2 separate regions of the Homo sapiens genome follow, and region 1 is linked to region 2. Evidence: promoter capture Hi-C in human tissues and cell types (Jung and others, 2019). All regions are on one chromosome and are shown on one strand. The core of a region is centred on a gene start or on the middle of the fragment in contact, and the rest is flanking DNA. Distances in the headings are between cores, read along the strand shown.

The links. The method cuts DNA at HindIII sites, captures the fragments that hold promoters and counts their contacts. A contact is called where the count stands out against the background at its distance.
Region 1: a contact is called between a fragment that was not itself captured here and the fragment with the promoter of CLMP in region 2, in 1 of the 25 tissues and cell types used here (aorta).

The regions. Positions count from the first base shown.
Region 1 is chr11:123,054,277-123,057,110 of GRCh38, forward strand. No RefSeq gene overlaps it. Among named protein-coding and RNA genes, the nearest start is that of SNORD14E, 2.5 kb to the right of the region's middle. The HindIII fragment of the contact is 9,040 bases long and covers 1-2,834 here.
Region 2 is chr11:123,193,778-123,196,849 of GRCh38, forward strand. It overlaps CLMP (CXADR like cell adhesion molecule), which reads right to left and starts at 1,471. Exons shown (of 7, transcript NM_024769.5): 1 at 1,136-1,471. The coding sequence starts at 1,163. The HindIII fragment of the contact is 11,250 bases long and covers 1-3,072 here.

The DNA.
Region 1 (2,834 bases), core at 61-2,560, 140 kb before region 2:
TCTCAAAAAAAAAAAAAAAAAAAGGAGAAAAAGAATGCTTTGCCTGGAAGGTAATTGTGGATATTTAGAGCTGACTTCCTTTTCCTTCTTCATTATTTGCTGTGCTTCCAGCTAGAAAGCACAACAAACAGCACAGACAATGCTACAGCAGCTTCCCCCGGGGTACTCTGATAGTTTTATAAATAGCTACTGCCATCTAGTGGACAAAGATGACTACATCAGTACGTAGACCCACAGATACGGAAACTCTCAGCGTTTCTATTTATGTCCTGCAACCACTTCATCCCACCTTAATGGAATCCAAAAGACCACTTTTCCTTTGAAAGCCTAAAGCCTGGAACATTGTAAGTACTCAATATAGTTTGGACAAAGGATTTTTCACGGGCATTGTCATTTTTTAATTTTATATGTAACAAATATTGTAGTAATATTGTTGGATAATTTTATTATTGTGGCTTTATACTATTGCCTTAGAAGTTTAAGTCTATTAAGGGCCAGGCGTGGTGGCTCATGCTTGTAATCCCAGCACTTTGGGAGGCGGGCAGATTGCCTGAGCTCAGGATACTGAGCCTCGGTACACGATGAAACCCCATCTCTACTAAAACACAAAACATTAGCTGGGTGTGGCAGCGTGCACCTGTAGTCCCAGCTACTCAGGAGACTTAGGCAGAATTGCTTGAGCCCGGGAGGTGGAGGCTGCAGCAAGCTGAGATCACACCACTGCACTCCAGCCTGGGAAACAGAGCAAGACTCCCATCTCCAAAAAAAAAAAAAAAAAAGAAAAATGTCTAATAAGGTCAAGTAGAAACTGAGAGAGCTATAGTAATAAAAATACATTTTAGAATATAACCATATTGCCAAGTTCACCAGAAACCTGCATGTAACTCCTAAACTGGACCTAGAGATTAAGTTTTTTGGCCTGTCTTCCCAATCCAGTAGCGCCCTGTGCAGCAGGGACAGAACCATCTAGGTCATGGAGTTTCCTCTTATAAACTCAAACCTCCTTACAGTAACTTGCAAAAGCAAATTTTGCCACCGTGTAGATTTGTGCATGCACAGCCAGAGCATCCAAACATCCCTCCATTGTAAGGTTATTTGGAGAATCAAATAAGGGGAGAAGCAATTGCCATTAACTCGAAATTCAATGGGAAGTGGTAGACACTGCTGTCCCTATGGTTACCTTCTCTTTCTCTAAGCCTTACCTAACAGCTAATTAGACATTTATAGGGTTTAAACATCTTTACTGGTTTTTTAAACTACTAGCCCACAGCAGAACCCTAATTACAAACAATAGGCCAGGCACAGTGGCTCACACCTGTAATCTCGGCACTTTGGGAGGTCAAGGTGGGGCAAACCATTTTGAGGTCAAAAATTCAAGACCAGCCTGGCAACATGGCAAAACTCCCGCTCTATAGAAAATATGAAAATTAGCTGGGCATGGTGTCCCAGCTAGTCAGGTGGGAGAATGCAAAGGTGGGAGGATGCAAAAGTGGGAGGCAATGTCTGCAGTGAGATCGCACCACTGCACTCCAGCCTAGGTAAGGGAGGCTGGAGGCTCTCAAAAAAAAAAAAAAATCCATTTCCCCAGATTAGACTATGTGATGACATTAAGTGTCCACCTGAGCCTCAGTATCATCTATAAACACATTCTGGTTTATAAATAGATGAAAGTATAATACGAATAACTGAGAAAACCTAGCAAATATTAATTCCCACCTTCCCAGGCCCCAATTCCTTGCTATACATTACACATGTCCAACAAGTTATTATCTGTATAGGGGAAACATTGCCATATTTACTCCTCTAATTTTGTGTTTTGCTAATGAACATTAAGCTAACATTAACCTGAAGTTCAAAAATTTACAGTAACAGCTACCACTGAAAACCTTCCACATATTTTTAAGATTCCACATGAAACGAGATCAAAGTATATTTACCCTTTAGTCTCGTTGAGTCAAGGCATCAAAAAAGTTTGTAGCATCTCAAATACATGGTATGGCCATGTGCAGTGACATACACCTGTAGAGCCAGCTACTTGGAACTAAGGCTGGGTGACCACTTGGACCCAGGAGTTCCAGTCCAGCCTGCACAAGTGATAACACACCCCTATGGAAAACTGAAGCCCAGGTAAGATTCTCACCCAAACAAAAGAAACATGCCAAAAACGTGCATTGCTGTCAGGTGCAGTGACTCACACCTGTAATCCCAGCATTTTGGGAGGCCGAGGCGGGTGCACCACCTGAGGTAGGGAGATCAGCCTGACCAACATGGAGAAACCTCATCTCTACTAAAAAATACAAATTAGCCAGGAATGGTGGCGCATGGCTGTAATCCCAGCTACTTGGGAGGCTGAGGCAGGAGAATCCCTTGAACCCAGGAGACAGGGTTTGCACCATTGCAATGAGATCGTGCTATTGCACTACAGCCTGGGCAACAAGAGTAAAACCCTTCAAAAAAAGAAGTGTGTACTACTTGTCATTTTTTGTAACCTTGGAGAAAATATGGAATGAGAAGTATATCAAATCGTGCTACAAATTCCCACTGAGATACCCAGACATTAGTAGCCCTTCAGTACCAAAGAGAAAAACTGCAGCTCCTCCATGAATTAGCTTTTTGGCATATGCTAAGATTAGCTAGTCCACTGAAATCTGTCACGTACGTAATGACAGGTAACAGCCTGCTCCCCTAGGCTATCACAACTCACTGTTGGGACCTTAATTAACCAGGTGGCAGCTTAGCTCCATCCCCGACCTTCTGAATAATCTTAACTCAGGAAGAAATGGAAGCCCACAGGGCAGTGGCTCATATAAGGGATTGACATTCAGATACCTCTG
Region 2 (3,072 bases), core at 221-2,720:
ACCATCTAGTATTCTCTTTCCAGAGCTAAAGACGTGGAAGCCCTGGATAAGGAGTAAGTTGTCTGAGGCCACCCAGCTAGTCAGTTCAAAACCAGGACCAGCTCTCCCGTGGCCTGGTGTTCAGGGTAGTGCTCACTCTTGACCACTGGCTGGCTCTTTGATTTTCTGATCTCCAGCTAACTGTGGGGCCTGTCTGCAGTGGATCCCATGCTTCAGGGTGCATAGTGACGTGCCCTTGGCTCTCCCTGACTGCCTTTCCTGCCCTGGCTCCTCAGACATTTCCAGTCACTCCGGTGGGCTCCTACCACCCACATCCCTGATGTCCTCTCCTGCAAACCTGCCTCTGCCTCAGGGCCTCTGAGGCCCCAAGAGTCCTGCCTGGGGGACCCCAGGAAGGGACGCTCAGGAGGACTCTTCCCTTTGCTCTGGAGCCTGTTTCAGGAAAAAGTGGTGCTTGCTCTATTTCCCTCTGTTCTGGTTCCTCTGCTGCGTTTTTTCCAAGTCTTCTTCACTCTCTGTGCTCGGACTCCCCCAGCCTTGCTCTTCTGTTTTACATTCCTGTTCTCCTCTTTTTCTCTCTCCTTCCCAACCCTTCCCCTTTCCCCTTTTCCTTCCTTCCCTGTGTGACTTGGGGCATTTGCATCTTCCTGGTGCTCCTTGGGCCCTGCCCTTTTTCCCTCTCCCCTTTCCTCTCCAACCCTGCCTATCCCCCACTCTGCTCACCCTTTAACACATCTGTTTCTAATCTGAGCCTCGGAGGCGCCTGTTTGAAACAACAACAAAAAACCCCCACCCTCAGGAACCTGGCACAAAAATTCCTGGATAAACCTTCCCTCCACCAATTCTCCACTTTTCCCAGATACACCAGAAACTAAACACCGCCCTAAAGAGGACCCTGCACATCAAACGGTTCCCCAAGCCTGTTCAAGGGCCCAGATGTGCGAGACAATCTCGATGGCCGACTGGGCGGCCCTCGGTTGCCAGATGTGCTCCTCCGTGGCCAGGAGGCAGGGACTGAAAAGCCGGCTGACTCCAGGGGCTGCAGGGACACCCGGTCAGAACCGGCGTCTTTCCCGGACGCAGGGCTGCGTTTGCCCACGGCCATCCAAACTCCCGCCCTCCCAGAGGCACTCACCTAGCAAGAGGAGAAGGAGGAGGGACATCCCGATCCCCGGACGCGGGCGCTTCCCCGCTCAGCTGCTGCTTGGCTCCGGGGCGGCCGGGCGCCTCCGACGGACCTCGGGCGAGCTGGGCGCGGCGCCTCGGGGTGCGCGCGAGGTGGCTGCAGCCATGTGCCGGGCGGGAGCCGGCCCCGCGCCCCGTGCCCCTGGGGGCAGATGGGCTCCCGGCGCTCGCCCCACCAGCTGGCGCCCGGACGGGAGCCGGGACCAGGGTCAGGGAGGAAAACGCGAGGCGAAAAGGCGCTACCGCTTCGTGGAACACTTTTCCCTGTTTGGAAAGAAAAAGGAGTGAAGAAAGAGAGAGGGAAAAAAAAAATTCAGCTGGAACCACATGGTTGCCTCCTACCGCAGCCCCTCCCTCTCTCTCTCGCTGTTCCCTCCTTCCCTCCCTCCCTCCCGCGCGGCGTTTGGGGTTTGCGGTGGGGGCCGGTCGGGGAGAAGCGTGAGCTGGCCGGGCAGGGAGGGCCGGGGGAGACCTGGGGCCGTGCAGAGGCGGGTGGGTTGAGAGGCGCCGGGCGTAGGATTGATTCTTTGCAGGAGGCATTGGTGACACCTCGGCTGAGAGCCCATGGACGAGGCCTTGTCCGTTCCTAGAGCTCTGCTCTCACTTGGTCCTTCTCTCCACTTCTCTCTCGCTTCTTTTTTACTCTCGTTTCTCTCTGCTTCCACGTCTCTCACAAATCTGGCGTTTCTCTCTTCCATCTCTTCCTCTCTAGGTCTCCTTGTTCGCATTCTTGCCTCTCCCTCCTCGTCTCCTCATGCCCTCTCCCCTCTGTCCTCTGCGCTCTTCTCGCCTCTCCTCTCCCTCCCCGTCTGGTTCTGTTAGTGTAAAGCCACCAGACTGACCAGGCCGACGGCGGGGCGCGGAAGTGGGTGCGAAGGCAGCCAGCGGCCGGCCGACCAGGGCTCTCCCCACCGACTGCCTGCTTTGGCACCCGGCTACCCCCCTTGGCCTGGCTTTCCTGGGGCCTTTCGCGTTCGCTCGCTTTCTACTGTCGGTATTTGCAGCAGCGCTCCCTCAGGTCCCGAGCAGAGCTAAGCCAGCCAGCACCCAGGGGAAGGGGACCCACAGCCCCGTGGAAAGAGGTCTATCGAGATGCTTTGCAGCAAAGTGCTCTGCACGTGGCCCTGGCCAAAATGTGCACCACCCCCTTTCAGAAAGAACATAAGGCAGAGGGAGCAGAATCCCCCTGGTGCCAGGGCCTGCGCGCCCGGGCTCCGGGAACCCGGCCCAGGAGGCTCGCGGAGGGCAGGAGGCTGGCGGCCGGACGGGGGCGGACGGTGGGTTCCGCGGAGCCGAGCAGCCCCGCCCCAGGGTCGGCCCCTGGGAGTCTGCCCTTCACTACCCTGCTGCTCAGCGGCAGCGGGAGGCAGCGAGACTAAGAAAGGGCAGTGAGGGTGGCGCTCAGACCTCAGCTGCCTGGACCTCCTGCCCTGACCTTGTGCCCAGGGCCTCTCAGAAACTCTGGTCCCAGTCTCTGAATGTCCCTGGAGGGCTTCTCCCTCAGCTGCCCAGAGGCATGATGACGCAATCGCTCACCTTCGGCCTCGCCAGAGCCCAGGTTGGAAGCCGGGGCCAGCGCTCTTGAGAAGAAAGATGAACCCCGCCGGGGCCGGTGGGCTGCCGAGTCACACATTTGCAATGAAATGCAAATGTGTAATGAAAACCCGTCCCATTTCGCAGACTAGGAAAGCAAAGGCCTGGAGAGGTTATGGAAGTTTCACAAGGTCACTCAGAGGACTTGCAAAAGCTGGGGCTGTTCCTAGGGCTCGCGGATCAGCTGGAGCATTGCTTTAGAATTGCAGCATTTCTCCACTCACTCCCTCACCCCTTCGATACCGATGTGTTAGCATCCACACTATGCCAGGTGCTTTTTTAGGTGTGAGGACA